Linked DNA regions of Homo sapiens: region 2 is linked to region 1. The links are contacts of gene promoters, found by promoter capture Hi-C in blood cells and fetal thymus (Javierre and others, 2016). All regions are on one chromosome and are shown on one strand. Each heading gives the region's core, a stretch centred on a gene start or on the middle of the fragment in contact. The rest is flanking DNA. Distances are from core to core; before and after follow the strand shown. Region 1 holds the start of XK (X-linked Kx blood group antigen, Kell and VPS13A binding protein). Region 2 has its middle 4.9 kb from the start of DYNLT3.

Region 1 (3,378 bases), core at 718-3,217:
TGTTCACCAAGTTTGCTGTGACTGTGTGCAAACTACAAGTCAGTAGTTTGTGTGTCAGCTGGAACAGTTTTCTTTAATATGAGGTGCAAAAATTTTATGGCCAGGCGTGGTAGCTCATGCCTGTAATTCCAGCACTTTGGGAGGCCTGGGCAGGAGGATCATTTCAGCTCAGGAGTTCCAGACCATACTGGGCAACATAGAGAGAACTTTAGGAGGCCCAGACAGGAGGATCACTGGAACTCAAGAGCTCGAGACCAGCCTGGGCAACATAGGGAGACTCTGTCTCTACAAAAAATACAAAAAAAAAGAAAGAAAAAAGAAAATTAGCCAGGCATGATGGCGCTTGCCTGCAGTCCTAGCTACTCTGGAGACTGAGGCAGGAGTATCACTTGTGCCCAGGAGGTGGAGGATGCAATGAGCTATGATCTTGCTACTGCACTCCAGCCTGGCTGATAAAGCAAGACCTTGTCTCAAAAAAAAAAAAATTATAACTTTGTAAAATTTATCTTGCTCCTCAATGTGTGTGTGTGCGTGTGTGTGTGTGTGTGTGTGTGTGTGTGTGTAAGAGAGAGAGAGAAAGAGAGAGAGAGAGAGAGAGATTTCCTGGTAGGGCTAGCTGAATTTTCTGGCAGCTGAGGTGTCTCTCTGGCCTTTCCATCTCTTCAAATTCCTCTGTCGCCTATGTCTAAAATTCAGTATTATAAACTTATTTCTAATCCAAATGGACGGCCTTTGTTTTGCTTTTCCTATAGTGATGAAAGGTACTAAAACAACACATTTTAAACTCCTTAGATAAGCCAGTCTGTTTTATTACCATGTATTTCTACTTGCTTTGTGTTAATAAAAATTAATTTCCAGAAATGTCACCAACAGTTTTTCTTTACTTAACACACAGCAAGTTTTGTTTTCATGGTGCATTGTGCACCAGCTTTAATGGCTACGTTTATAAGTTTGCCAGGGCCGGAAGACATTTCTAGAACCCCATATGTTTCCATATCCCATAATATTCGTAACGCCACCAAGAGAAAAGAATGGTGCATGGATTTCTTGACTTCCCTATGAGAATTAAATACTGTTAAAGCTTTTAGAACAGTGCTTGGCACACAGTAAGCTCCATGTGTTTGATAAATTAAAATTAAATCACCTGTACATGCTGTCCCCGTAACCACAGCTTAGAACACACTTCCCAAGGGTTTGTGACAACACAAGCCAATCCTGTCAGAGCCTACTTGACCCCAGAGAAACCAATGTCTTTAATGAGGTTGAACCACAAGAAACTGCCATTTTTGTTGGTCAATTTCAGTTGAATGTTGGCTATTTCATTTGACGGAACCTAACAGGAATTCAGTGTGCCCCAACTTTATAACCATTATGCCATGATTCGTCGCGTTCCTGACTGGAATAATGGGGCTGAGGGGCATGGCGGACCGGCTTGGGGCTCAGCCACCTGTCTCCACAGGAAAACCGCCTCCCTCCACTCGAGCAGGTGGGGAGATCAGGCTACAGGACCGAGGCTGCGGCCTGGGGCTGGCTCTGGGCTTCTGCACGCACCTGAAAAGGGGCCCAAGTTGCAGCAGGTGCAGCAGCAGTACGAGCGGGCGGTCGCGGCTGAGGTCGCGGTGTACGAAGAGAAGCGTGAGCTGCACGAGCGCGCAAGGCAGTAGCGAGAAAAGCAACGTCAGCGCCTGCCACATGCGGTCCCCGCCCGAGCGGTAGGTGCTGCTCAGGCTGAGCGCCGCCGTTGTCTCGGCCACGAACAGGAACACGGACGCCAGCACCGAGGCCGGGAATTTCATCTCCGCGCGTCAGCGGCGCTCACCGGGGACGGACGCAGTGGCGGCGGCTGTGTGGCTGTGGCGGCGGCGGCCGTTGCCCGAGGGGCTCCCAGCATGCCCAGCCCCAAACCGCTCCCGCGCTCTGCGCAGCCCGCCGAGGGCACGCGGGCCCGGCCGACCGGCCTGGGCTCTGGAACTGGACCTGGTGGGGGCGGCCGACCTGGCTGGGGTGGGGTGGGGTGGGGCGAGCTGCGCAGCCCCGCCGGGACACGCCCACGCGCTCCGTGCGCCGCCTGCTCGCTCGCTCGCCAGTGCCGGCTGCGTCTCTGTGGTGACCGTCCCCTGGCGGGCCGCGAACCCGCGCCCTACGACGGCTCAGGCCATGGAGCGGGAGCTCAAAAGGATGCAGTTCGCCCTGCGGGCGTCGCGCGCAGCCTCTGGGTCCTAGAGTCCCTTGGGTCCTATCTTGGGAAACCGTTCACATCCCTTTGAAAAACTGCAACCACCCGGGCCCAGAATTGGAGTCCGGGCGCCTTTCTAGCCCAGTCTATTTTCTGGGCCGAGGAAACGCGTGATTCTTCAAAGGGCCAGCATTTCTGGCCTTTTAAAAATAACCAGACCACACAGAGGCTTTTCAAAGTGCAAGTATATTGTCATGCACCCACCACCAAGTGGGAAAAGATTTCACTTTTCACTGTGCCATGTGAGCATGTCCCTTTGTCTTCCAAATACAGTGGTCTGAAGCATTGCTTCCAGTGGTGAAAAGGCGTCAAAGATCGTCTCTAGGAACCTGTCCTTACCTCCCAGAAAAACTGCCTACAAAATATATTCCTCTGTAACTGTAAGTAATTCAGGGCAAAGATCAGGGCCTAATAAGGAAGTAGTTTTTTTTATTCCAAGACAGACCTCTGCTTATTGGTGTGCCAATACCAAGACTAACACAACTCCTTTTAGCCCATTGAACTTTCCACCATCTTCTTGATATCAGGATGTACTCAGTCCACCCCCGTCCCTCAGACCTCGATCAAGTCACTAAATCTTTCTGAAACTCAGGTTCCATAAAGGGATTAGACTTAAATAATTATAAGATCTCTTCCCCTGTTGAAATTGGGTGATTTCAATCTTCAGGCATCTCTGGCATTTTTCTATTTAGGAAAATAATGTAAACACAAATAGAATATAAAGATTCAAAAGGAATCAAACCAAAAAAGAGGTACAGGGAGAGAATGTGGTGGGCTGTTTTTCTGTTTTTTATGTGGCATGAGAAAATCCATTTATGAGTTAAGGGGCAGATTCAGCCAGCAGCTGAGAGGTAGCAGGCCCTTTCCCTAAAAGGATTACTAATGTCTATTTATAGAACCCAGAAGGCCACCATGTCCTGGGCCAAGATACATACACTGCCACAAATACAGAATCAGCAGCAACACTCCACAGAGTATTTGTGTAATGTTTTACTTGACATCATGGTTAGCTTTAAAGGAAAAATTGGTAGCTTAGAATTATTAATCAGGACACTGAATATTTAGCATTAGATTTTATTTTAAGGCAAAGGATTATCACAGGTTTTACATTAAGTGTACTGTACATAAATGTATTATAAGGA
Region 2 (3,378 bases), core at 286-2,785, 170 kb before region 1:
ATAAAAAACTAGAAGACCTCCACGTCAGATTTAAGGGAGTCCCTCATATCTTAGAGCTGTACCACATCACATTGATCCATGACATTGTTGACATTAATTGGAACTGTAATCACAGAGTCCCTGGAAATATAGTAGATGTAGAGCACAAAATGTGCTGCTTGACATATAGAGGAGGTGCATCATCTATTATAGCATTTAAGTTGGTCACACAACCACCTGCAATCAAAAACATTAGCTATGATCAGTGGAGGTAAAAGGGAGAGGGGATGAAGTAACACAGAATAGTTGCTATAGTCCTTGCCTCTGTAGCTGGGCAAGTGGATGGATATTGATGGAGAAAAGTGATAGGCTATACTGGATTCCTGAACCTATTCCTTATAGATCTGCTATATCCACCATCCCAGCACACAGCATTGTAAATAAATCCTCCCTGAATTAATATTTTGGGAGTTTCATCTGCTTCCTACAGAGACTCTGACTAATATGTTCTTTCATCAGTTTTGGAAGACCTTCAGCTAATATTTCATTAAATATTGTTTCTGTCCATTCTGTCTCATCTCCTTCTGGAAATCTCACTATGTATGTTAAACTTTCTCATGGTATTACTTTTGTCTGTATGCTTTCTTCTGTATTTTACATTAATTTATGTCTCTGTGCTTTACTCTGGCTATTTTATTCTGTCCATTTTTTTTTTTCTGAGAGAAAGTCTCACTCTGTCACACAGGCTTGAGTGCAGTGGCATGATCTCAGCTCACTGCAAGCTCTGCCTCCTGGGTTCAAGCCATTCTCCCGCCTCAGCATCCCGAGTAGCTGGGACTACAGGTGCCCACCACCACGCCTGGCTAATTTTTTTGTATTTTTAGTAGAGACGGGATTTCACCATGTTAGTCAGGATGGTCTCGATCTCCTAACCTCATGATCTGCCCCCCTTGGCCTCCCAAAGTGCTCGGATTATAGGCGTGAGCCACTGCGCCCCGGTCTATTCTGTCCAATTTTTTAAGCTTCACTTAATCTTCAGCTTTGTAGGAACCACTATAGAATCGATTCTTTGTTCTTTTTAAAAAATTGGTTACTGTATTTTCTACTTCTAGAAATTCCATTTGTATACTTTTTATAATTTCAAGTTATTGGATGAAATTCTCAACCCTGTCTTTTATCTCTTTTAATATAGTAAGCATAGTTATTTTAAAGTCTATTTCTGATAACTCCATCATCTTCATCCCTGATTGGGCTGTTTCCATTGTCTTTTGATTTAAGATAATGTTGTTTTGTCTCGTTATGTGTCTAGTTATATTTTATTGTCCACTTGATGTATGCAAAAAATCATATGTCTGATTTGAGACCTAAGATAATGTTTTCTTCCTTCAGAGAGAATTTACATTGGCTTCTAGAAGTTGGCTAGAGGCATTAGCAATTCCGGATCACCTTAATTCAATTTTAGGGGTTTGGGTAATTTAAAACTGAGATTCAGTCTGCAAGATCAAGTTTGAGTGTTTCACTCCCAGGGTTTAATCCATGGGGTTTCAACCCAAAGCAAGACTGTTTACCAGAATCATCTTCCTTGGCAGGACATGCAGTCTGATTATTTTACCCCTTGGCCCATAAGCAAAAGGCTTAACATCTTCTCACCTCGAGGTAAAAAGTTATCCCAAATGCCATGCTCATCTTTCTGGGTTTCATTATTCTATGTCTTAGATCCATAATTCTTCCCTATCTTGTTAAAAAATCCAATTCCCTTGAGCAAATGTCTATTATATTTTGTCCAACCTTTGTAATTATCAGTGAAAGAGATGGTCCTAATTACATAGTCTACCATTACAGAAGTCTTTAAATATAATTTTAGTGGTTTGTAAAGTGGGTCCAAATGTTTTTTATCAGCTGCTTCTATGGCAAACCTTTCTAGACAATATAATTTATTCATATTTAGGGAAAATTAATTATTAAAAACTCATTAACAGGAATTGCTTATGGCTGTTCAATGCGTAGAGCCAGATATAAAATATTATATGGGTGAAACCAAGATTGAGGGTCTCACTAAAGCATTGAAAGAGGTTTTATTTGGAAGCTTTAAAAAATTCAATTTTAACACCCTTTCTATTTTATTTTTTCATATAATTATATAAAGTAATGAAAATATTTTTTCACCAAGCCCCATACAGATGCCCACCAAGCCCCTCCAGTTTACCTCAATGTACCATGTAAGTATTATCCTCTATGTGGGCCATAGCATGGAAAAGTTTGGAAAGGACTGACCTACCAACATTTACTTTATATCAATTTTTTTTTTCTTGCTGGCAGAACTCACTTTTCACCATACAGAATGAAAAAACAAACATTTGTTGTCCCATATGTTTTGCCCGGTGGGGAGTCACGTGGCCCAATCTTGGCCACTGGAACCTGAGGAGAAAACTCCTGAGGACTTGAAATAAAGATTTTCTTTCCTAAGAAAATCCGATCAACCCCAGAAAATGCTCATCTTAGTCACTGAACGTGATATCTTTGTTCCTAGCGATACCAGAACTAATGCAGCCGTGTATGACCATGAGGCTAAATGTTGCTGACATGCTGAGGATATTGGCATGGAAAGATGAAAAGCACAGAAGCCCCAAAATTTGTTGAGCAACTAAACGAACCTGGAATATCTCTGCCTCTGTATGTCTGTGTATTAGTCTATTCTCTCATTGCTTTACAGCAATGAGAAATACCTGAGACTGGATAATTTATGAAGTAAAGAGGCTTAGTTGGCTCGTGGTTCTGCAAGCTGCACAGGAAGCAGAGTGACTCCTGCTTCTGGGGAGGCCTCAGGAAACTTACAATCATGGTGGAAGGTGAAGGGGAAGCAGGCACATATTACATGGCTAGAACAGGAAGAAGAGAGAGAGGAGGGAGGTGCTACACACTTTTAAGCAGCCAGATCTCATAATAACTCACTCACTTACTCTCACAAGAACAGCACTGAGGGGATGGTGCTACCCATCATGAGAAATCTGCCTCCATGATCCAATCACCTCCCACCAGGCTCCACCTCCAACACTGGGGATTACAATTCAACATGAGATTTGCTGGGGACAGATCCAAACCATATCAGTCTGGTTATATAAAAAAATAAATGCCATTATTTCAGCTCATCCTATTTGGGTCTTCTGTTACTTGCAACCACAGGATGCTAGTTAATAAACCCACTTGTAGTTTTAAAGCATGAGCCCCAAATTATTTGACACTTCTCCCATTGAGAAGTGGATTATGTGTCCCCTCCCCTTGAATCTGAGTGAATGTTTCAATGATTAGAGTATGGTAGAAGGGCTGCTGTGTAACTCGTGACACTAGGTGATAAAAGGTGACATATCTTCTGCCATGCTCGATGGAACCCTCATGCTT

Evidence for each region. Contacts are between HindIII fragments. The CHiCAGO score rates a contact against its expected background, and 5 or more counts as called.
Region 2: a fragment that was not itself captured here is called in contact with the fragment with the promoter of XK in region 1 in 1 of 17 cell types (naive B cells); the score reaches 5.0 in naive B cells.

Annotation. Positions count from the first base shown.
Region 1 is chrX:37,684,380-37,687,757 of GRCh38, reverse strand. It overlaps XK (X-linked Kx blood group antigen, Kell and VPS13A binding protein), which reads right to left and starts at 1,967. Exons shown (of 3, transcript NM_021083.4): 1 at 1,552-1,967. The coding sequence starts at 1,796. It overlaps LANCL3 (LanC like family member 3), which reads right to left. Exons shown (of 5, transcript NM_001170331.2): 5 at 3,295-3,378. RefSeq lists enhancers at 1,155-1,664, 1,665-2,176 and a silencer at 1,846-2,225. The HindIII fragment of the contact is 2,462 bases long and covers 1,084-3,378 here.
Region 2 is chrX:37,850,744-37,854,121 of GRCh38, reverse strand. No RefSeq gene overlaps it. Among named protein-coding and RNA genes, the nearest start is that of DYNLT3, 4.9 kb to the right of the region's middle. The HindIII fragment of the contact is 1,064 bases long and covers 1,004-2,067 here.